Regions from separate parts of the Homo sapiens genome. Here all the other regions are linked to region 1. Evidence: promoter capture Hi-C in 16 types of primary human blood cells and fetal thymus (Javierre and others, 2016). All regions are on one chromosome and are shown on one strand. The core of a region is centred on a gene start or on the middle of the fragment in contact, and the rest is flanking DNA. Distances in the headings are between cores, read along the strand shown. Region 1 holds the start of ZNF621 (zinc finger protein 621). Region 2 overlaps CTNNB1 (catenin beta 1). Region 3 overlaps CTNNB1 (catenin beta 1).

Region 1 (2,700 bases), core at 61-2,560:
GAACCCAGGAGGCAGAGGCTGCAGTGAGCCGATATCATAGTGCCACTACACTCCAGCTTGGGCGACAGAGTGAGACTCCGTCTCACAAAAAATGAGTCTGATTTCAGTAGGTGACTTTCATTTCTAGAACACGATCTGGATTTCCACATTCAGAAAGAATTTCTTGGTATAGGTCCCCTTTCTTCCATTTAAATCTATACATCCAAACTCATCACTCTCTATACACAAAACTTTCATTTCCCCAGCACATATTTACATCTGCCATAGCCCTGGAGATAGATACAAAGGGGAAAACACAGCTTGGCCAAGTTAGGCCTTCCTCATCCTTTCCTGATTATCTGATAGCTAATGTGAGTAAAAAAACATAAACAAACAAACAAAAAAACTGAAAGAAGCTCAGCTCACCTGAGGCCAAGTTGTTTGGAGCATGGCGGATGTCCCCTGGCTTCATGCACTGTCTTCTGGGTTTGGACAAGCAAGATCCTCAAGAGCTAAGAGAAAAAGAGCCATGAGTGCTAAGGACCCTGTCGTCCACCACCTACAGCAACCTATGGCCCTCCCAGTTTCCACATTTCCAGCACTGGATGCACGGAGATTCTACTAGGACTCCCTCTAATTGTTCTCACGCTGATAGCCCCAAACTTCTTATGAATTGTTCTGCCTAGTCTTCAGGACAATCTTCCACCTGCCTGCTCAGTCCGAAGAGCTTTTTTTGAGCCCATTCGTACGGGTAAACTGAGGGACCCAAGAGCCCTGTCCCTATTGTGTTGGGTCTCTACAAACGTAAAGAGTCTTTACAGAATGCTTACAGGGACGATGACGTGGACCCAAAAGAAAGAACCTCAGGAGAAGAGGGACTGGGGTGGCTGAATGCGGATTAAGGGTAAAATACTCAGCGTCCCAGTGGGTGATGCTGACCGGAGACCCCACCCAACCGTGATCTTAACACTCCACCCAAGAAAACAGGCAACCCCAAACATCAGAAACGTCAGTACCGGGAGCCAGAGGCTGTCAGGGCAAGTTCTTTAGGGCAGAAAAGAGGATCAGGCCTCGGTGGCAAAGGGCTGGACACGGGCTCTAGAAGCCCGAGCAGCCACCTTGACGGCTTCGGCGAGGCCCAGATGCCCACGGTCCGGGTGAAGGAGGGGCGGGCCGCCATTGGGACCAAGTTCAGGGGTAGTGGGGGCTGACGAGCCGCCAGGGGCAGCGAGGAAGCCGGCACCGGGCGGACCTGGCACGTAGAACTCGCTGAAACCCACGCTCTGCAGAACGCCGAGGAGCTGGTCACTAACTAAAGGCCGAGCCGGAAGGGCGAGTGCACGCCCAGGGTCCCTCTAGGCCCCCGGAGGCCGCCATCTCGGTCGCCCCGTGGCCAGACCCGCCCCGCCTTTCATGGCTGGCCCCGCCCTGCGGAAGAGGCGAGGTTGCGGCGACCGGCTGGGCTGAGAGGCCGGCGGCGGGCGTGGAACTGTGGCGCTCTAAGCCCGGCTTTCTCCGGCAGCCGTCGGCATCGCCTCTGGCTGGAGTGTCACGGACTGATACAGCCTGGCTCTACCGAGACCTCGCCCTCTAGGCACAAGTGGGCCCCCAGTTCACGGGCTGCGCCTCAGCTGTTGGCCGCCTTGGCCCCGTGGCTCACCTGAAGCCTGGGCCGTGCAGGTGAGGGGAGAATGGCGCCTGCTTTGTCATCTCTAAGAGGCCCAAGCCCAGGATCTTGCTTGGGTCCTCAGCTGGGCAGTCCTCAGGGAAACCATGGTTTCCACTCGCCGTTTTAGCCCTCTCCCTTCCAAGGACCTAGATGTGCGTAGAACCTTTTAGGACAGATTCATTTAACAACCAAAACACCCGTGGCTACATACAGTTGCTAGGCATCCTGTATACACAGGACATGTCCTATATTAAATGATCTTGTCCTGTGTTGACTTTGGGAGGACACCCTAAATGTCTTATATTTAGCTTTTTCCAATAAATTACAAAAACTCGTAGTTACAGCTATTTTTCTGCTCAGTAACTGGCACTTAAATAAAATGTTAACACCAGCTGAAATATATATATCTCATACTTCCATAAATAATGATCTGGACAGACCTTTATGGTCTGTTCTGTTAGTTGGACTGCAGGAAGAAAAAACAGTGAAGAGGGGAGGCTGCTAATTAAAAGAACTTACTTTTCATATTCAGGAAAGGAAAAGACTGTTTTTTGACCAAAGTCCCAAGTCACTAACAAGTACTTGCCATTAATTTACATAATTTTAGATCAGTACACGTACTCTGAAAATCAACCAGTACACAACAGCCTCACTCCAAGCTTCTGAACATGAGCCAGTCAGTGATAAACACTTCCCGAAGCCAGCCAGTGGCAGCTCTACCCAGCTCATTGGCAAGTACCTCACTACTGTGCCCTTCCTTCTGGACAGGAGCCTTTCTCCAGTATCAAAGTGGTTGCTAAGATGGACAGACTTTGTTTTTTTTTTTTTTGCTTGTTTTTTGTTTGTTTGTTTTTTTGAGACGGAGTCTCGCTCTGTCGCCCAGGCTGGAGTGCAATGGCGCAATCTCGGCTCACTGCAAGCTCTGCCTTCTGGGTTCACGCCATTCTCCTTCCTCAGCCTCCCGAGTAGCTGGGACTACAGGCACCCCGCCACCACGCCCAGCTAATTTTTTGTATTTTTAGTAGAGACGGGTTTTCACCGTGTTAGCCAGG
Region 2 (2,700 bases), core at 134-2,633, 700 kb before region 1:
TATATAGCTATTTCAGAAGTGCTTTGATACATCCGGCTTCCAGGAACATTTTTTTATAGTACTGTTTTTCCTTGTTGTTGATGCAAAGGCAAAACATTTACGCATATTACTGGGTAAACTCTGTGTGGGCTGACCTAGTAACTTGACCGCAATTTATAATGATTTCATTTTTACAATGGAAAAAAGCAAGTTCATGTTCCAAATTTACAATAGCCATTTGTACACTGGGACTTCCCAACATTACATATATATTTTTTAGCTTTTAAAATTTATGCAACATAAATAAAAATTCATCTTGCTCTTCACTGCAACCCTATGAGGTGAAGGAGGGTAAAAACCTATCAGTAGATAGAGAAGTAAAAACAAAGGGTAGAAATGGGGATCTAATTAGGTAACAGCATAGACTCACTCACCTTGTACCTGCTCTGGAGGCAGATCCACATATGCCAAAAAACTGAGCATTAACTGCTAAAGAAATCAAATAGACTGCCAAGCAAGACCTAGGGCAGAACCCTGCTCCGGAAAGGAAAAGGAAAGCCTTCCTCTTTCTTTTTCTGGCCTGAGCCTTTGGACTAAGGGCTGTCTCTCCTCCACCACACCCTGCCAACCATTAAGGGCCCAATTCTAGTGCTCCCAATTAGCCAAAACTTACCAATCACTTCAGGAAAATTTTTTTTTAAAGCAACGAAAAAACTGACTCCATAGAAACTGAGATAAAACTTGAAACTAGGGATAGGGTGGAGAGAGAAACAGAACACTTCAATTTAGTATCTCCATAAATACTGGAGAGAATAAATAAAAACAAAAAGTTGAATAGAAACTAAAATTGAGAAAACTGCCTAGAGTACAAAAAAATGACAAAGACAAAAAATACAACAGAAGAAATCACGATCAATTCAGGAGATCAAAGGTCCAACCAGTAGACATTTCAGAAAGAATTATGAAGAAACAAAAATGATAAAATCCACTAAGTACCAATCAAGAGGGAGGAGTGCTTAAAAATTATGAAGTACAATCATGCACTGCATAAGGACATTTCAGTCAAGATGGACTACATATGCTACAGTGGCCCCACAAGATTTTAATTCTGTATTTTTACTGGATCTTTTCTATGTTTAGGTAAACAAGCCAGGCGAAGTGGCTTGTAATTCTAACACTTTGGGAGGCGGGTGGATTGCTGCAGCACAAGAGTTCCAAGACCAGCCTGGACAACACAGCGAAATTCCATCTCTACAAAAAAATGTTAAAAATTAGCCAGGTGTGGTAGTATGTGCCTGTAGTCCTAGCCACTGGGGAGGCTGAGGCAAAGAGGATCACTTAGGAGTTCAAGGTTATAGTGAGCTATGATCACACCAATGCATCCAGCCTGGGCAACAGAGCAAGACCCTGTCTCTTAAAAGAATTTAAAAAAAAAAAAAAGGATACATAAATACCACTGTTTCAACTGCCTATAGTAACACGCTATACAGCTTTACACCCTAGAAGCAACAGGCTATACTATATAGGCTAGGCATGCAGTACACTATGCCATCTAGGTTTGTATAAGTACTACGCTAAATGTTTCAAGACACAGATTATCATTAAACTACAGACTACATTAGAATGCTGTGTTTTCCAACAGCTTTATCACCACCAAGTGATGTTTTGACAAAGAGGGGGCTAGCCAACTTCTCATGTATTTTCCATCCAGTCTAATGCATCCATGCATCTTTTTTTTGGCAATATGAACATAATACTCTTTCCAACTACAAGGATACTTCAAAATTCACCGTGCTATTTCCGATTTTAACCCTATAAATGTCTCCAGTCAAAGTCAATGGGAGAAATCTTGCCACAACTAATATATAATAGATTTCACACTGAAGTTATTTTTCCTCTTCCCATCAGGACAGAATTATCTTAATTACCTTAGTTTTCAGTAAGTTTGAGTATTATTAACTAGGAGTAAATCTGCTACATAAAAATATAAAGCAGACATATTTTAAAACCACAGTTTTATACTAGCAATTCATAATTCACTTTTCCAATAATCAAGATCCAAAGAATTATTCCCCGTTTTAAAGTTAGAAAGTGCTACTCTATTTCATAAGCATGATAAACTTTTGATACACCTTCAGGGATTTTTAAAAAGTTCTTAGTAAAATTTGTAAATCTAAAAACACATGCATATGCATTTTCATTAACTGTCACCAGTAATACTTTGCCATCTAGAAAATGTATGCAATTTCCTCAAATCTTCCTGTTTTAACACACTTCATGCAACACTAACATTTTAAGTTACAACTCACTCCAGGTTCTTTTCTGCTTTCTTCCTTCACAGCTTTCTTCGGGGAGGGGGGTGGGGTGGGTGGGTGAGGGTGTGGGTGTGGGTGTGGGTGTGTGTGTTCTCAAGGTGTCTTGTCATCCTCGAATAGTCAATAAGCATCAAACATCAAATGACCCTTGGTCCTCCAAACACTAAAATGTATGCCTTTGGTACTGTCTTTAAATAGGTACACAAATGGTTATTAGAAGTATGAAATCTTCTCAGGTAGGAAACAGAAGGTAAATGGAAAAAAAAAAGAAATAGGAAATCTCTTTATGGCTGGGAAAAATTAGTATGTTTCCAGAATGAGCTGTTCTTCATAACTGTCTTCCTTCCTCAGCCATAAATATATGCCTCAAATAAATTAATATTTTTATTTATCATCTCCATCATAT
Region 3 (2,700 bases), core at 121-2,620, 720 kb before region 1:
AGTGTTGCAATGAATTCCTTGTACATACTCGTGAGTATACCTCAAATAATTCTGAGTAGAACTGCTTTGTCACAGAGTGGCTCTCAGTCGTACCTAACATGGAAATTACATTTATGGACACACGGACCTTTCCCTATTCATGCCAAAACCTACTTTGGAAATACATAGAGATGGGGTTTCTCCTTTGCCTTCCTGCATACCCCTATACCTGTTCTGACCTTCCCCCACAACCTCAACTCTGAAACTTGTCACTTCCTTCTACGTTTACTGGAGTCTCAAGTGGTGGAATGGATATTATACAGAATTCCACATAGGAGGCTGCGATAAAAGAAAAAGGAAGAACTGCCCTGACAGCCCCTGCAGCCCCATCATTTCATAATTTCACTTTGGTGGGTGATCTGCTCAAGGCAAGGAAAGGCAGGTTCTCACTTAATAGAACTGCAGATCAACTTAGCATTTTTGCTTTATAAACAAAACAGCACAATTCACATCTTTTTATTATAGCAACCAAGAGTTAAAGAGTGTGTTTATCTTAAGATCTTTCATTATTAAGGATTCAGATCATCAGATTTCAAAGCCTCATGTCTGTAAGATCTGCTCCAACATAGAAAAGCTTCCTTCTTTGGTTCAATGGTGGTTGCTGCAATGGGATCAAATGTCTTAACTCTCAAGGCTGTCTCATAACTACAGCACAACTGAAAAAAGAACACTCAGGCTGGAAAGCCCTCCTATTCTCAACGGCCATGTTCATTTTGTCATTTTCACCTCCTGTACCCGGAAATGCAAGTGGGCAGCATTCCTTTTAGGCCTTTTCCTCCCCACCACTACTTCTCTTATTGAAAACTTGACCTCACTTTCTTCACCACTATTTACAGGAAAGGTTAGGTACCTTGCCAGCATCCCATGCACCTCCCTCTCCAGGTTAACCATTATTCTGATTTCTATAGTCATCTAATCATCTCCTTGCTCCATCTGTGGATATTTTCCTTAAAATAGCTTGTCCCTTTTTTTAATTGATGATCAATGGAGTTCTAAAGCATGCATCTGTAACTTGCTTTTGTTCAGTGTTATGTGAGATAGATATATGCATACTATACTGACACCCACATCACTGAAGCTGTAGTTTTTCACTGCACTGTCTCGTGTGAACAGAGATTGTTGGACACATGGGCGTCCAGTGTAGACTGTCAGCGTTGTGCCCTACCAAGCCTTACTGGCGCTTGAGGCAAAAGAAAAATCAGTACTACTGCCTTTATTTAAAATCTTGATATTTTGTTGGGTCATGGATGTTTTTCTGTATTGTTTTATTCCAACGGCTGTTTCACACCTTTATGAAAAAGTTGCTCTCCTCCCACTCGGATCTCCAACGCTGTCTCTGAAGAGTCTTTAAATGCCTGTGTATTATTCTGTATTAATCTGTATTTATATCCCTATTCCTGTAACAGGGTTAACTAACTTTAGCTTTGTATTAAGTAGTTAGGCCTTGACAGCTGCTAGAGCAAGTGCTATTTTTCCTAAGCGTCTTGGCTATTATTCACCCTTGGTACTTCCAGAGCCACCTTGTTGAACTGGATTAACTCTCACATTAAGTTTTTAAACTTCAAAAATAAAATACAATGAATTAGCAAAGCTCTGAAAACATTCTCTGGTTTTAAAAAGTTGTTCTTTCTGTAATTGAAACACCGTGCGGTGGCTCTTTATGTTAAAAGCTGAATTCACTGAAGATCTTCACGGTGTTAACCTACCAATAGCCCTAGGCTTCTTGAAATACTGGCTGGTTTGGTTTATCACACATGAGACAGAACCTGAGACCTACCACATCATCAGCTATGTGAATGTTTCTTTTCAAACCCTAATTACATTTTAGACCACAATGAATTCATTTTTGCAAAGCAAGGGCATTCACAAAAAGGCCTCCCCAGATGAAGCTGATTTTTAACGAAAAAGAACTGAATGTATGTTTTTCTCATAATTAATAGTCACTATCAATCATCATCAAAATAAAAACAGTAAATCAGAAAGAGCTCTCCCTAAAGACAAAACACTTCTTTCTTTTACTTTTTAAAAGACCAAAACACAAGTCTTAACAAACAGGTCTACCTGAAGAGATGAGATGAACTAAGCTTGTCAGACCTACCACCGGGATGATAGGATCATCTGGCAGGTACTGTGGAAGGCTCATTCTGGTTCTGATTATGTTCAGATAAACATCAACACTTAAACCTATTTAATTTATTTAATTATTATTAGTTCAAAGTCCAGTTGAAGGAATTCCCCTCTCCCAATGAGTCACACTTGGGTGAAGGTGATTCAAATCCAAATCCAGGTAGGGGTAGTTACTATTTATTTCATTACTTTAATGGAATCAAATCATCTGAGGGGGATTGGGGTAGAGATAGATAGATGGATAGTCTGCTTGGCTTTCTCCCACCAAAGCCCAGAACTAATCACAATGTGCAAGGCTGAAACACTTTTTTAGGGGTCCAGCGTAATCCAGGGCCAAATGCTAAAGAAACTTGGCAAATTGCATCTAGAGAAGTAGGGCCCTCTCTATCGCTACAACAAATTACTTCACTATGTATCTATCTATCTCAGGATAAAGTTCAGGATAAAGTTGAGTTGGATAAACTTACTTACCACCCTCACAAACCATTTATTAATGACAAGAAAAAAAGAAAGAGTGACACAATCGAATGAATT

Evidence for each region. The method cuts DNA at HindIII sites, captures the fragments that hold promoters and counts their contacts. A CHiCAGO score of 5 or more calls a contact.
Region 2: a fragment that was not itself captured here is called in contact with the fragment with the promoter of ZNF621 in region 1 in 2 of 17 cell types (naive B cells and total B cells); the score reaches 5.7 in naive B cells.
Region 3: a fragment that was not itself captured here is called in contact with the fragment with the promoter of ZNF621 in region 1 in 1 of 17 cell types (total B cells); the score reaches 9.1 in total B cells.

The regions. Positions count from the first base shown.
Region 1 is chr3:40,523,570-40,526,269 of GRCh38, reverse strand. It overlaps ZNF621 (zinc finger protein 621), which reads right to left and starts at 1,310. Exons shown (of 5, transcript NM_198484.5): 1 at 996-1,310; 2 at 406-491. The coding sequence starts at 429. RefSeq lists enhancers at 829-968, 528-1,340, 1,619-1,708 and a silencer at 1,269-1,428. The HindIII fragment of the contact is 8,303 bases long and covers 1-2,309 here.
Region 2 is chr3:41,220,059-41,222,758 of GRCh38, reverse strand. All of the region lies in intron 1 of CTNNB1 (catenin beta 1), which reads right to left. Among named protein-coding and RNA genes, the nearest start is that of CTNNB1, 22 kb to the right of the region's middle. The HindIII fragment of the contact is 8,015 bases long and covers 1-2,700 here.
Region 3 is chr3:41,240,435-41,243,134 of GRCh38, reverse strand. It overlaps CTNNB1 (catenin beta 1), which reads right to left. Exons shown (of 15, transcript NM_001904.4): 15 at 2,692-2,700. Among named protein-coding and RNA genes, the nearest start is that of CTNNB1, 42 kb to the right of the region's middle. The HindIII fragment of the contact is 1,510 bases long and covers 616-2,125 here.